Regions from separate parts of the Homo sapiens genome. Here all the other regions are linked to region 2. Evidence: promoter capture Hi-C in 16 types of primary human blood cells and fetal thymus (Javierre and others, 2016). All regions are on one chromosome and are shown on one strand. Each heading gives the region's core, a stretch centred on a gene start or on the middle of the fragment in contact. The rest is flanking DNA. Distances are from core to core; before and after follow the strand shown.

The links. Contacts are between HindIII fragments. The CHiCAGO score rates a contact against its expected background, and 5 or more counts as called.
Region 1: a fragment that was not itself captured here is called in contact with the fragment with the promoter of RFX7 in region 2 in 1 of 17 cell types (fetal thymus); the score reaches 7.7 in fetal thymus.
Region 3: a fragment that was not itself captured here is called in contact with the fragment with the promoter of RFX7 in region 2 in 1 of 17 cell types (naive CD8 T cells); the score reaches 5.4 in naive CD8 T cells.

Annotation. Positions count from the first base shown.
Region 1 is chr15:56,922,383-56,926,405 of GRCh38, forward strand. The region is part of intron 3 of TCF12 (transcription factor 12); the gene reads left to right. Among named protein-coding and RNA genes, the nearest start is that of TCF12, 5.8 kb to the left of the region's middle. The HindIII fragment of the contact is 526 bases long and covers 1,489-2,014 here.
Region 2 is chr15:56,242,444-56,246,122 of GRCh38, forward strand. RFX7 (regulatory factor X7) reads right to left here and starts at 1,436. Exons shown (of 10, transcript NM_022841.7): 1 at 1,002-1,436; 2 at 682-844. The coding sequence starts at 842. It overlaps LOC124903569 (laforin-like), which reads right to left and starts at 2,375. Exons shown (of 3, transcript XM_047433428.1): 1 at 2,291-2,375; 2 at 1,540-1,736; 3 at 908-1,439. The coding sequence starts at 2,375. The coding sequence ends at 990. It also overlaps a transcript of TEX9 not described here. RefSeq lists silencers at 962-1,031, 1,122-1,181, 1,332-1,621, 2,112-2,161 and enhancers at 1,408-2,053, 2,054-2,699, 2,412-2,461, 2,700-3,345. The HindIII fragment of the contact is 5,292 bases long and covers 1-3,140 here.
Region 3 is chr15:55,497,096-55,500,942 of GRCh38, forward strand. It overlaps DNAAF4 (dynein axonemal assembly factor 4), which reads right to left. Exons shown (of 10, transcript NM_130810.4): 2 at 1,112-1,489; 3 at 617-764. The coding sequence starts at 1,234. It overlaps DNAAF4-CCPG1 (DNAAF4-CCPG1 readthrough (NMD candidate)), which reads right to left and starts at 1,489. Exons shown (of 16, transcript NR_037923.1): 1 at 1,112-1,489; 2 at 617-764. The HindIII fragment of the contact is 1,637 bases long and covers 1,062-2,698 here.

The DNA of each region.
Region 1 (4,023 bases), core at 502-3,001, 680 kb after region 2:
TCCAGGAACTTGCTGTTAGAAGTGCATTCTATTTTTAGAATAAAGGCAATTACATTTATTTCACTTTTTAAACTTAAGAAGGATTTATGTAGTCTGTGAAATTAAAAAGTATGTGAACTGGGATATAGATTATAAGCATGGCATTGGAGCAATTTTTGGACTTCAGTACGTTGCATTGCACAAAGAAAAAATTATTTTTCTACATTGCGAATGGTCACCATATTTGATTATTTGGAGTAGGAACTTTTAGTTTTAAAAGTTAGATTTGTTATCCATTGAAAGGTTTGAACTTACACACCTGTAGTCAGTGGACTTAGCAATATTTATCTGTGTGTTTTGTTTTAAATGCTACAAAAAATTGTAATAAAAAAGCTGTGACTTTTAATTAGTGAATGGATTTGAATTTGGGGAAGAGAAAATGCCATGTGATTTTTTTTCAAATCAAGATGTACTGGTAGATATAATTTTTCTGTGGCCAGTTCTTAAAGGGAATGTCTAAAAGAAATTGGTATAGTAACATTATTTTACTTATATATTTTATATTTATATACCTTATTGACATTTGAATAACCTTCTGCCCTGATTTCAAAGGATATTATGTAATACACTCTAATGCCTATGTATTTGCAGCTATTAAGGAGCTAAAGATCTGACTTTCCTTTTGAAGAGCTGCTGTAGTAAAGATTAGGGTTTTTTGTTTGTTTTCTGTTTTGTCTTTGGAGTAACATTTATAAAAACTACATGCCATTTGACTTATGAAAACTAGAGTTTATAGTCAGGTATTGTAATTTCCTTTCTTATTTGTCCTTTTTGAGGAAGACTCAATTTCACAGTGGGCTGTTTTTGAGAAACGATATATAATACTTTCAGAAGCTTTTTTAGCTGAAAGAATATATACTATAGCATGTGATGTTATCTTTAATCTTATTCCTGAAGCAAAACAAATAACTCATCATGGCTGAGTTATTTATGAGTGTCGGAAGTCACTCTGGAAAAGATAAAGGTGTGTTTACTACTACTAATTTGTCTTGAGGATCTGTTATGTTATTCCTTCATCAGGGTGTTAAAATTTTCTTCACGTTATGGTGAGAGTGAATTTGTTCACTTGGTATGATAGGCTCTGTGAAGTGTTCCTAAAGTGACCTTGAGAGAAACTTTTCTTTCTGTAGGAGTGAAAGGTCAGGCACTCTAATTAGGGCAGTGTATAGAAACAAAGGGCAGTGTATAGAAGGAAAGTTGGTTAAAAGGATTGACAAAATGGAAATGGTTCAGATGTTTAAATCCATGTCCTCAACTTCGGGGTTTGAGTGTGTATGTCTAGATTGTGATTTTGGGTTAGTTTTTAGTAGATTGTTTGTATGATATCTGAAAATTTCCTTTGTTTTTGAATCCAAGTAGTAAGGGATGTTGTCATTTTGTAAGCCATCTGTAGATATTGAGCATCTCTCTGGTGTTTCTATCTAGAATGTCATTTTAACTATTAAGTAAAGCTTCACTTTTTCTTATTGAATTCAGACGTTTGTAACAGTATAGTTTCTTTTTGCCCAAAATTTTCAGAGATAATTGTAGGAAGTATTTTCTGGCTCTTAATTTTTAAAAAGGAATACAGTTTTTCATTTTTCAGTTACTGATCTTTTTTTGTGGGGCGGGGGGTTATTTTTAGATGTACTTACAGGCTTTTTGAAAATATTGACATAGGGCCAGAAAAATGAATTCTCATTAAATTACTCTTCAGTATTTCTATTTTTAGATAGTTGTAGATTCATATGCAGTTGTAAGAAACTATACAGAGATTCTATATACCCTTTACCCAGTTTCCTGCAATAATAGCACCTTGAAAAATTAGTACAGTATCACAACTAGGTTATTGATAGTGATACAGTCAAGATGCAAAAACTGTTCTGTCACCACAGGAATTCTTGGTGTTGGCCTTTTGTAACTGCATCCACTTTTCAAGTAATTAAAAAAATGGTAAGATTACTAAATGCCTTCTTTCTCTGTTAAACGTGGAGTAAGCTTTTCAAATTGCTGTAGCATTACTTGAACATATCAAGAACAAAATCAAGAGAAAACCAAAATTGTACCACTGTAGGTTTTTACTGAACTGTGATAGAAATAGGAATGGTGATTTTAGAGAGGAAACCAGGTTTGACCTTTCACTTAAGGTATTTTAAGGTTATGAGTAGGGTGTGGTTCATATTATGTACATATTAGTGTTGAAATTTATAATAGCTATAATTTGTAGTAAATACATACTTGTTAATATTGAGCCATGTTAGACATTTGTTTCAGGTAAGCTGTAGTTATTAATGAGAGTAACCACAGAGTCAGCAGGTGTGTGGGGAAAAATATATTTTAGGACAAATATGGTCTGCTATTAAGTTGCTCATTTAAGGTAAAAGGTAGCAAGGGAGTCTTTTAGAGAAAACCTGTTTATGAAAACTCATACTTGGAAAACATAAAAATTAGAGACAAGATTACAACCATGAGTATTGTATACTTTTCAGGACAATTCCTGAACAATTGAAAAACAAGGTCGGGTGTGGTGGCTCATGCCTGTAATCCCAGCACTTTGGGAGGCCGAGGTGGGTGGATCACATGAGGTCAGGAGTTTGAGACCAGCCTGGCCAACATGGTGAAACCCTATTTCTACTAATAATACAAAAACTTGCTGGGTGTGATGGTGGGCACCTGTAATCCCAGCTACTCAGGAGGCTGGGGTGGGAGAATTGCTTGAACCTGGGAGGCAGAGGTTGCAGTGACCTGAGATGGCGCAGCCAGTGTACTCCAGTCTTGGCAACAGAATGAGACTCTGTCTCCAAAAACAAAAAAAAACCACAAACAAATGGTGTCCACCGCCCCCCCACCCCCCCGCCCCAACCCCGTAGTCATTGCTTATAATGGATTTGAAAAACAATTTGATTAGATCACAACATTTTAGGGGCTTGTTTATTATATATAGTGAGGCATACCTACAATTACTGTTTTTGTTTTCATTAGCCATTTAAACACAAATTCAAGTTTCTGTCTTCAAGGTATCCTTTGCTATATCTTTGAGTTTTTAAACAAGCCTTTTGAAATGAGAAGATAAAGATGAAGATATCCAACCTTGACTATAAACAACTTTCAAATTTTATACTTAATTGGGCAATAAACAATGCTGTCTTATTAAAGCCATATAGTCTTTTCTGCTCTTAAACAATTGGTAGTCTTTTCCTGGAATGTCATTGTCTGCCTAGTGTTGTCAAAGACTTGGGTAATCTTGCTGAAAGAAAGTAAAAGTAGCACTATTAGAAAGGCTCTCCTGAAAAAGAAAAAGAAGTGCTATTTGTGGACAATGTGTGGAATGCCTTTTTAAAAGATCATTTAATAAGACTGCTTTTGGGTATCACTTGAAAGTATGTTTATGGATGGGAATGTTGAAATTGCAAATCTAAATTGTTTGTGTTTAGGGAAGATAATGAGAAGACAAACACTTAAATATATTCAAAAGACTAATGAATGACAGTCTGCTTTGTTAAATAGTTGTGCCATAAGTATCTCATTTTTATCAGTTAACTATTTAGTATTTACCTATGCATTCTTCTAGCAGTTTTTGGGAAGATGGGAAATGGAGAAGGTCATTGCTCAGAAAAAGTGGAGACATTTCGTTGGCGTGGTGGCTCACGCCTGTAATCACAGCGTTTTGGGAGGCTGAGGCAGGCAGATCACTTGAGGCCAGGAGTTGGAGACCAGCCTGGCCAACGTAGCAAAACCCTGTCTCTACCAAAAATACACAGAATTAGCCAGGTGTTGTGGCTCATGCCTGTAGTCCCAGCTACTGGGGAGGCTGAGGCAGGAGAATTGCTTGAACCCAGGAGGCAGAGGTTACAGTGAGCCGAGATTGTGCCACGGCACTCCAGCCTGGGTGACAGAGGGAGACTCTGTCTCAAAAAAAAAAAAACAGTGGAGAAATTTATTATTTTGATGGGAAGTAAAATACTGAGGTAAACTTCTCTAACATAGAAAATGTCAACAAACACA
Region 2 (3,679 bases), core at 186-2,685:
TTCTTTTAAAAAGACATACAAATGGCAAGACATTTGATTCCCTATATTTTAATTTAAAAAAAAACCACTTTGTTGTAAACTACCATCTTAAAATATTTTATACTAAAAAAGCACTTTCTTCACAATCAATGCAAAGAATAAACTCCCTGAAAAAGAAATTTAATATTAGGATAAGGGAGGCAAAAACATTCAGAAATAGCAGCTAACCCAACTGAAAGGAAGAGACACATTAGGTTTTGTGCTGCATATTAATATTCTTACGCACAGTATCTGTTTGGTGAAAATTCACAATACACTTCTTCCTCCTTCTATGGCTGCAAAAAGGAGTAAACACATTTCACATTCTCCAGTTCCAAATTCATGCCACCATCATGCAATATGACTTAATTTCGACCCATATTTCTGTTACAATGAGTGAAAAAATAAAACCAAAAAACTTGTTTATCTGCACTCACAATTGAGGAAGGGGTAAAAGCATTTTTTAGCTAAGAAGACAGGGGCTGATTGATGCAAAGTCCGCACACCTCCAGAGATCCTACAAATGTGCACCCGACTGGGGAAAGCCACATTCAATGAATGCATCAGCCTCCTCCTCCGCTCCCCCCGCCCGCCGCCCCCCACCCACTTTGCAGCAGAAATGTGCCTGGGCTTTTTCACGCGAGCGATGGAGGATCCTCTTACCAGATGGAGTTCTTGATCTTGTGTTGCAGCGCGCTGGCCTCTGTCCCTGGCAGCCCGGGCACAAGGGCTGGCAGGGCCACCCCCGAGTTGGGGGCGCTGGGGGGAAGCTGCTGATGGGCATCAGGCTGCTGTGGTGGCGGCTGTTGTTGTTCCTCTGCCATCGCTGCAGAGGGGTGGGAGGGAGGGAGGGAAAGATGGGGGCGCGGGGAAGGGTGAGGGAAGAGACCGGGAGGGGAGGACGAAGGGGGGAGAGGAGGAGGGGGAGGGGGAGGGGAAGAGGAGGAGGAGGAGGAAGGAAGCTGGATAAGCTAGGCCTTTACCCCAGGGCTCGAGTGAGTCGCTTTCGCCTGCCGCCTGGGGAACATCACCGGGGAGACCAGCGGCTCCTCACGGCCGGGGCGCTTCACCGCGGGAGAGGCATGGCGGCGCCCCTCAGCCCCCCGCTGGCGCCGCCGCCTCCTCCCGTCAGCGGCCGGGGCTGTGGGGGGGTGAGATGGGGGCGTTTGAAGACGAAGTGGGGGGGGCAGGCTCCCCCCAAAATCCAAGAAGAACGGTTGCTCAGGGATTTGGCGGCCAAGCCTTCCTTCCTTGTCCCCGGGGCTTTCTACTGCCGGGTCCCCGTGCTGCTGCAGCCCCAGGCACCGCTCCACGCCACTCCCCACGCCGCCGCCGCCGCCGCCGCTCGCTCCCGGCCCCGCCGCCGCCGCGGCCGCCGCTGCCCTGCCAGCCCCGGAGGCAGCCCAGTGCGCGCAGCCGCACTGCGGCCCGGCGCAGACCGCACAACACCTACCGCTCCGCCGGGGGGCGTGGACCAGGGTGTGCGGGCCGCGGGCGCGACGGGCCGGGATGGGGGCGCACGGCGCGGAGGGCGGCGCGGGCCAGCGGGCCAGGGAAGCGCGCCGCTGGGGGCCGGGAGGAGTCCGGCCCGGCTGGTGGAGAGCAGGAAAACGTGGGGGAGGTGCTGGCGAGAGAAAGAGAACTTGCGTGAGGAGGAGGAGGAGAAACCAAATTTAATAATATTTGGCGTGGAAATGGGATTTGGGCGGGGGAGGCATCTTCAAAGCAAGTAAAGAGAAATCAACATTATCCCCCTTCCCCTGCACATGCATGTGAGGATTACTTCCTCCCTGAGTAAATGAAGAGAACTGAAGCAGGTAAGACGATAAACTGACTTTTCAGAAGCCCCCAAAGAAGAACACCCGTTGGAATTAACCACCCTTTAGGTAATTCGGTCTTGAACGGAAATCGCGAGTCAGGAGCTGGGTTGAGTGCTCCTCGGTCGGGCATTCAAAGCCCTCCAAATCTGGCCCCACTTTAACTATCCAATCATAGCGGCCTCCATCCCCCTGCAAGAACTCCCGGCTCCAATCAGGGAAGTCTCCATGCCATCCTCAACGCGCAGCAGATTCATTCTTCCTTCGTGCCTTTGCTCATGCTGTTCCCCTCCACCTCCCCACCCCACCCCACCCCCTTTCCAGGAATGCCCTCCCTCCTTTATACCGCTCCCAATTCCACCCAGGCTCTAAAGCATAGCTCAAGTCGCGGCTTGTCAGGGTCCCTGCAGCCAAGGCCACTGCCTGCCTCTGAAAGAAACGCATGTAGTACTCACAACATGGAGGCTCAGGCGTCAGCCACGAGCTCCTTCCTTTGGAGCCCGTTGAACACCCGCCCTCCCCCCGCAGACTCCGCACCATTCCCCCCCTTCCCATTCATACCTAAATGATAGCTTTGCCACAAATAAGTCAGTCTCCTTTAAGAGCAGAAGAATTGGCTTTTCTAGGTGGGGCTGATCAGGGAGGCTGCGTGGATGTAGAATACAACAGCCAAGGCCTCTGGCACCAAATGGAACAGCTGTTCAGCTCACACTGACCTTTCTTTGGGCCCGTGGGTGTTATGAGCCCTTCAGCTTTAACTTTTCTGATAGAGTGTCTATCAGGTTTCTACCTGTTAGATCCTCTGGCCACTTTCCTGCTGTGTGTGGACTTTGGGCTGTGGGGCTCTGCCACCTTTTAGACTCCTAGTGGATGGTGAATCTGATTGGCTTGGGTTGCCTGGCCTTTGAGTTCTCAGTTCCCTGCCTTGGCCTGAAACCCTCTTGCTTTTGTCCACTGTGCCCTCTCTCCTGGCCCACAGACTTAAGGCCCAGACTCACACTGAATGCTTGCACGTGGTGAGGGTTGAGGGTGGGGGTGCAGGGAGGAAGAACACCTGTGTGCAAAATAAGCCGCCCCCCCGCCCCCGGGGCCTCTTGGATTACGCTGTGCTCCAACTACCCATTGCACGAGTTGCATCACACAAATGAGCCCCCTTTTCCATACTCTAAGGTCTCTATTAGCTTAGCCACTTTAGGAAACTATAGGTGGTTTACGACATTCATTTTGCATACATATCTTCATGTGGGTGTGTAAAGACAGTATTTTTGTGGACCTAATTGATAGACATGGTGTGCACTAGACAGAAGCTTTGAAGGATAAAAATAGCTAATGTTTGTTGAACACTTTGTGTGCCAGACTAGCACTTTCCATACATTATCATAGTTATTCCTCCCCAAGAGTGTATAATGTAGGTATTATTAGTCTCCCTCTGTTACAGATGAAATGGAAGCTTAGGTTAATTAACATTCTTAAAATTACCCAATTAGTAAATGCAGGAGCCAAAATTTGAGTCCTGGAAGTTTAATTCCAGAGCCTGCAAGCTATGCTGAAACTGGAATTACGCTGAAAAATCTTGAATGTAGGTATATATATACGTGTGTGTGTGTATGCCCTATATCACGTTGAGGAAAGTTGCCAAGTTCCCCAAGGTTCTAATTTTTTGCCTTGCCAAGAGAGAATGATGGCTCCAAGTTGCAACACCCTGGGAGGGGGAGATCCTTAGGAAGTGGGAGAGTCATCGAGGGGGTAACGTATCTAAGGTCTGCCAAAGGCCTTAAGAAAAGGAAGCCGAGAACCAAGACGTTTTATAAAAAGTTCGCTACCGGGTGTCACACAGGCTGGCT
Region 3 (3,847 bases), core at 630-3,129, 740 kb before region 2:
GCGGCCTACATCCCCTCCCCCTTCCCCTATTAAGACAGTCCCTAAACTCTCAAATCTCACCGCTTGGGGGGTATTCACTTTTTTCCCTGTGATGCCCTCAAGCACTAATATTAAAAATTCATAAATTTCTATACATTTTCTTCTGTCAATCCTTCTGTTGTTAGTTTATTTTATAGACCCAGCTATTGAACCTTGGAGAGTAAAAGGAAAGTCTATCTGGCCGGGTGTGGTGGCTCGCACCCGTAATCCCAGCACTTTGGGAGGTCAAGGCGGGTGGATCACTTAATGACCGGTCAGGAGTGTGAGACCAGCCTGGCCAACATGGCAAAACGCTCTACCAAAAATACAAAAAAATTTAGCCGGGCGTGGTGGCGGACACCTATAATCCCAGCTACTTGAGAGGCTGAGGTAGGAGAATCCCTTGAACCCCGGGGGCAGAGGTTGCAGTAAGCCGAGATCATGTCACTGCACTCCAGCCTGGGCGACAGAGCAAGACTCTTAAAAAAAAAAAATCTATCTTCCCCTACACAATATAGGTGCTTCAAAATAAAATTTTTTAAAAGGTCTGAAACCGAAAAGGTACAACCAGATGAACATCTTTTAATAAAGAACTTACCACCCGTCACAGAAAGGGTCTCCCACATGGCCGCTTCTTTTTTATACAAGGTGAAGACAATGGTGTCATTCCCAATCTTTGCTTTGCTGCTCTCATCGTCTATGGGAGCATAAAGAAATGCCTCAAATAAAAATGGAGGAAAGTTGACCTATGCAGAAGGGTGAAAACAGAAACTAAGTTAGTTACACAAATTAAGCACGCGTATTAAGAAACACGTGAAAAAGGTAAAATAACTTTCTAAAAGGCCCACTAAATTTATGCCAGGTAGTGAAAGATTAGCAAGGCATATGAGGAAGCCCTGGATAAAAGTAGTCTCTGATCTGATTATCTGTCTACAGATGGTGTGTTACCTGTATGGGATTCATTTTTTTAATAGGATTAAAAATTTAGGACGTTTATCGGCAAAGATGAGCCTGTTGCTCGTGCCCAGCTGCGCTCTTGCAGAAGCTTCGGACCACACCCCCGGAGACCGGCAGGCAAGACTTGCATTCTTACCTTCAGATAGTTTTCCGTGCAGAACACGTCCGTGTCTCTGACGCACACGCCTTTGAGGGGCAGAGACAGAAAGACCGCAGTCTTCGTCTGCTGCCAGCTGTAATCGCTAACCTGAAGAGGCATTCCGGTAGCAACGGGAGCGGATAGCGCGGCTGGTTGCTTCTTGCGCCTGCTTGGTTGCTAGGGAAGCTGGGGTTACCATGCGCCAGCCCTTCCGGGTCAGGCCGGCCGGGAGCCCGGCGTTCCCAGCGTGCTCCGGCGCCAGCACCTCGCGGACTCCATGCGTGACTATCCAGGCGCCCAGACCAGAGAGTGATGCCGATTCTTGGGGTTACCTTACGATCTGAGCGAATGTTCAAAGAAGTAGACCCATACCCTCTGCTTGAGAAAAAAAAAAAAAAAAAAAAGCACTCTGTGGGTCGGGCGCGCTAGCTCACGCCTGTAATCCCAGAACTTTGGGAGGCCGAGGCGGGCGGATCACCTGAGGTTGGGAGTTCGAGACCAGCCTGACCAACATGGAGAAACCCCGCCTCTACTAAAAATACAAAATTAGCCGGGCGTGGTGGTGCATGCCTGTAATCTCAGCTACTCTGGAGGCTGAGGCTGAGGCAGCAGAATCGCTTGAACCCGGGAGGCAGGGGTCGCAGTGAGCCGAAATCGCGCCATTGCACTCCAGCCTGGGAAACAAGAGCGAAACTCCGTCTCAAAAAAAAAAAAAGAAAAGAAAAAGAAAGAAAGAAAAAAAAAAGCACTTCCAGCCTCATAATGCGATAATGCTAAGGAGGGCTGTGGGCATAAGGCTCGGGAAAGCAGCCCATGAGGAGCAGGTGCAATGCCCATACGCCCTTGGTGCAGTGTCTTGTCTGTTTATTCTGACTGAGGCTATTAAGAGTTAGCGCTAGTTGTTCTGTTTTGCAAATTTCTTGGTCATACAGACTGTGAACAAATGTGAACCTGAAAGAGCCAATCCGTCAACATCCAGAGCGGCTAACTGGGTCTAAATTTAAAATAGAGACACGTGGTCATTTACCTACTAGAGGTCACACATGGACTCTGCGTTCTCCCCAAACCCACACCTCTGTTGAGTGTTGGGTCTTATAGGGCTCACCTGCCTCAACCAATCAGGGCTCAGCTGTATCAACCAATCAGAACTAAGTGCGGTTCAATCGTTCATTTGTATAAACGAACCTGACTGGGAACCTGGGCAGAAACTTTTGCTGTAAAACCCAAACCCTCCCTTTGTTCTCTGGAATGCACCTTTGTTTTACACCTAAGGCTTCAACTCCCCAGTTTGCAAACTGTTCCCTGAAATAGTTGCTTTGCTCCAAATTCCTCTTCAGAAAACGTTTGTTCACAACACATACCAGGAGCTTGTCTAAAACTATTGTATCCTGCAAATCCTATTAACTGTAAGGCCGCCAAAAGCACCTATATAGGTTTTGCTCCAAAGTTTGAAAACTGAAGAGAAACCACCCTATGATTCATCTGACAAATGCTTTGCTACAAATCTGGAATAGGGTAAATTGGAATTACACTGACACATTCCGTAAGTGCTTAAGTAGAATCTGAACTTAAGTGCTGCAGAGAAGCTTGAAGATTATGTAGTCTTATTCTACATATTTAAGGAATCTGAAACCTATACACAAACCATTTTCGTATAGATTAGTAGCAGACCATCATTAAAATCCTGATCTCTTAACTCCCATTACAATGTTTTTGCTCCAGGCTGCTTTCTGCACACCCAGTTTATAAATTGCTGGGATAAAACAGTGAATGTATACAATATTTAGATACACACAAATTACTTCCCACTTGGGGCTTTTGATTTTCAACTTTTTTTTAACTTTAAAAAAAAAACAGAGAAACTGGGCCTTTGTGGAAATCTGAAAGTATAATACAAAACCCTGGATTTTAAACTTATTTACTTTTGGAAGCCTTTCTTTCACACAAATTTCAATGCTCCTTAGAAATTCATTGAGGAAAGATAAGGAGCAACAGACTTGAAGAGAAAACCATCTTTTCCCCAAAATAGGGCACACTCACTACCTTAGCAGTTCATCATCTCAAGCTTCTGGTAACTTTGAATACTGGGAGTCATCCTAGACTTGCTTTCCCTTGTCCCTTTAAGCTGAGAAACCCACGAATCCCATGGACTTTTTTAAAAAAATTTCTTTTGTCATTTTCCCCCTTTTGTTCTATTCCTACTTTTACCATATTGTTTCCAAATCTTACATTATCTTCTAAAGACAGGGTTTATGCATTTCTTTCATATAAAATGTTAAAGTCCAGGTTCTCCCACTATACAGAAATATGTGAGATTTTATATGCATGAAAGATAATAATGTAAAGGATACTTTGTGCTGTCGGGGATTTCAGGAAAATCTGTTAGCAATCACTTTGCTAAACACATACACACCTCTGCAGTGAAATTATTCTCCTGACTACCATGATCCTACTAAACTTTTAGACTCTGAATGAATTATACCTTAAAAACTTGTCAAGTTGGCCGGGCGTGGTGGCTCATGCCTGTAATCCCACCACTTTGGAAGGCCGAGGTGGGCGGATCACCTGAGGTTGGGAGTTCAAGACCAGCCTGACGAACATAGAGAAAGCTCGTTTCTACTAAAAATACAAAATTAGCCAGGCATGGTGGCACATGTCTGTAATCCCAGCTACTCGGGAGGCTGAGGCAGGAGAATTGCTTGAACCCAGGAGGCAGAGGTTGCCATGAGCTGA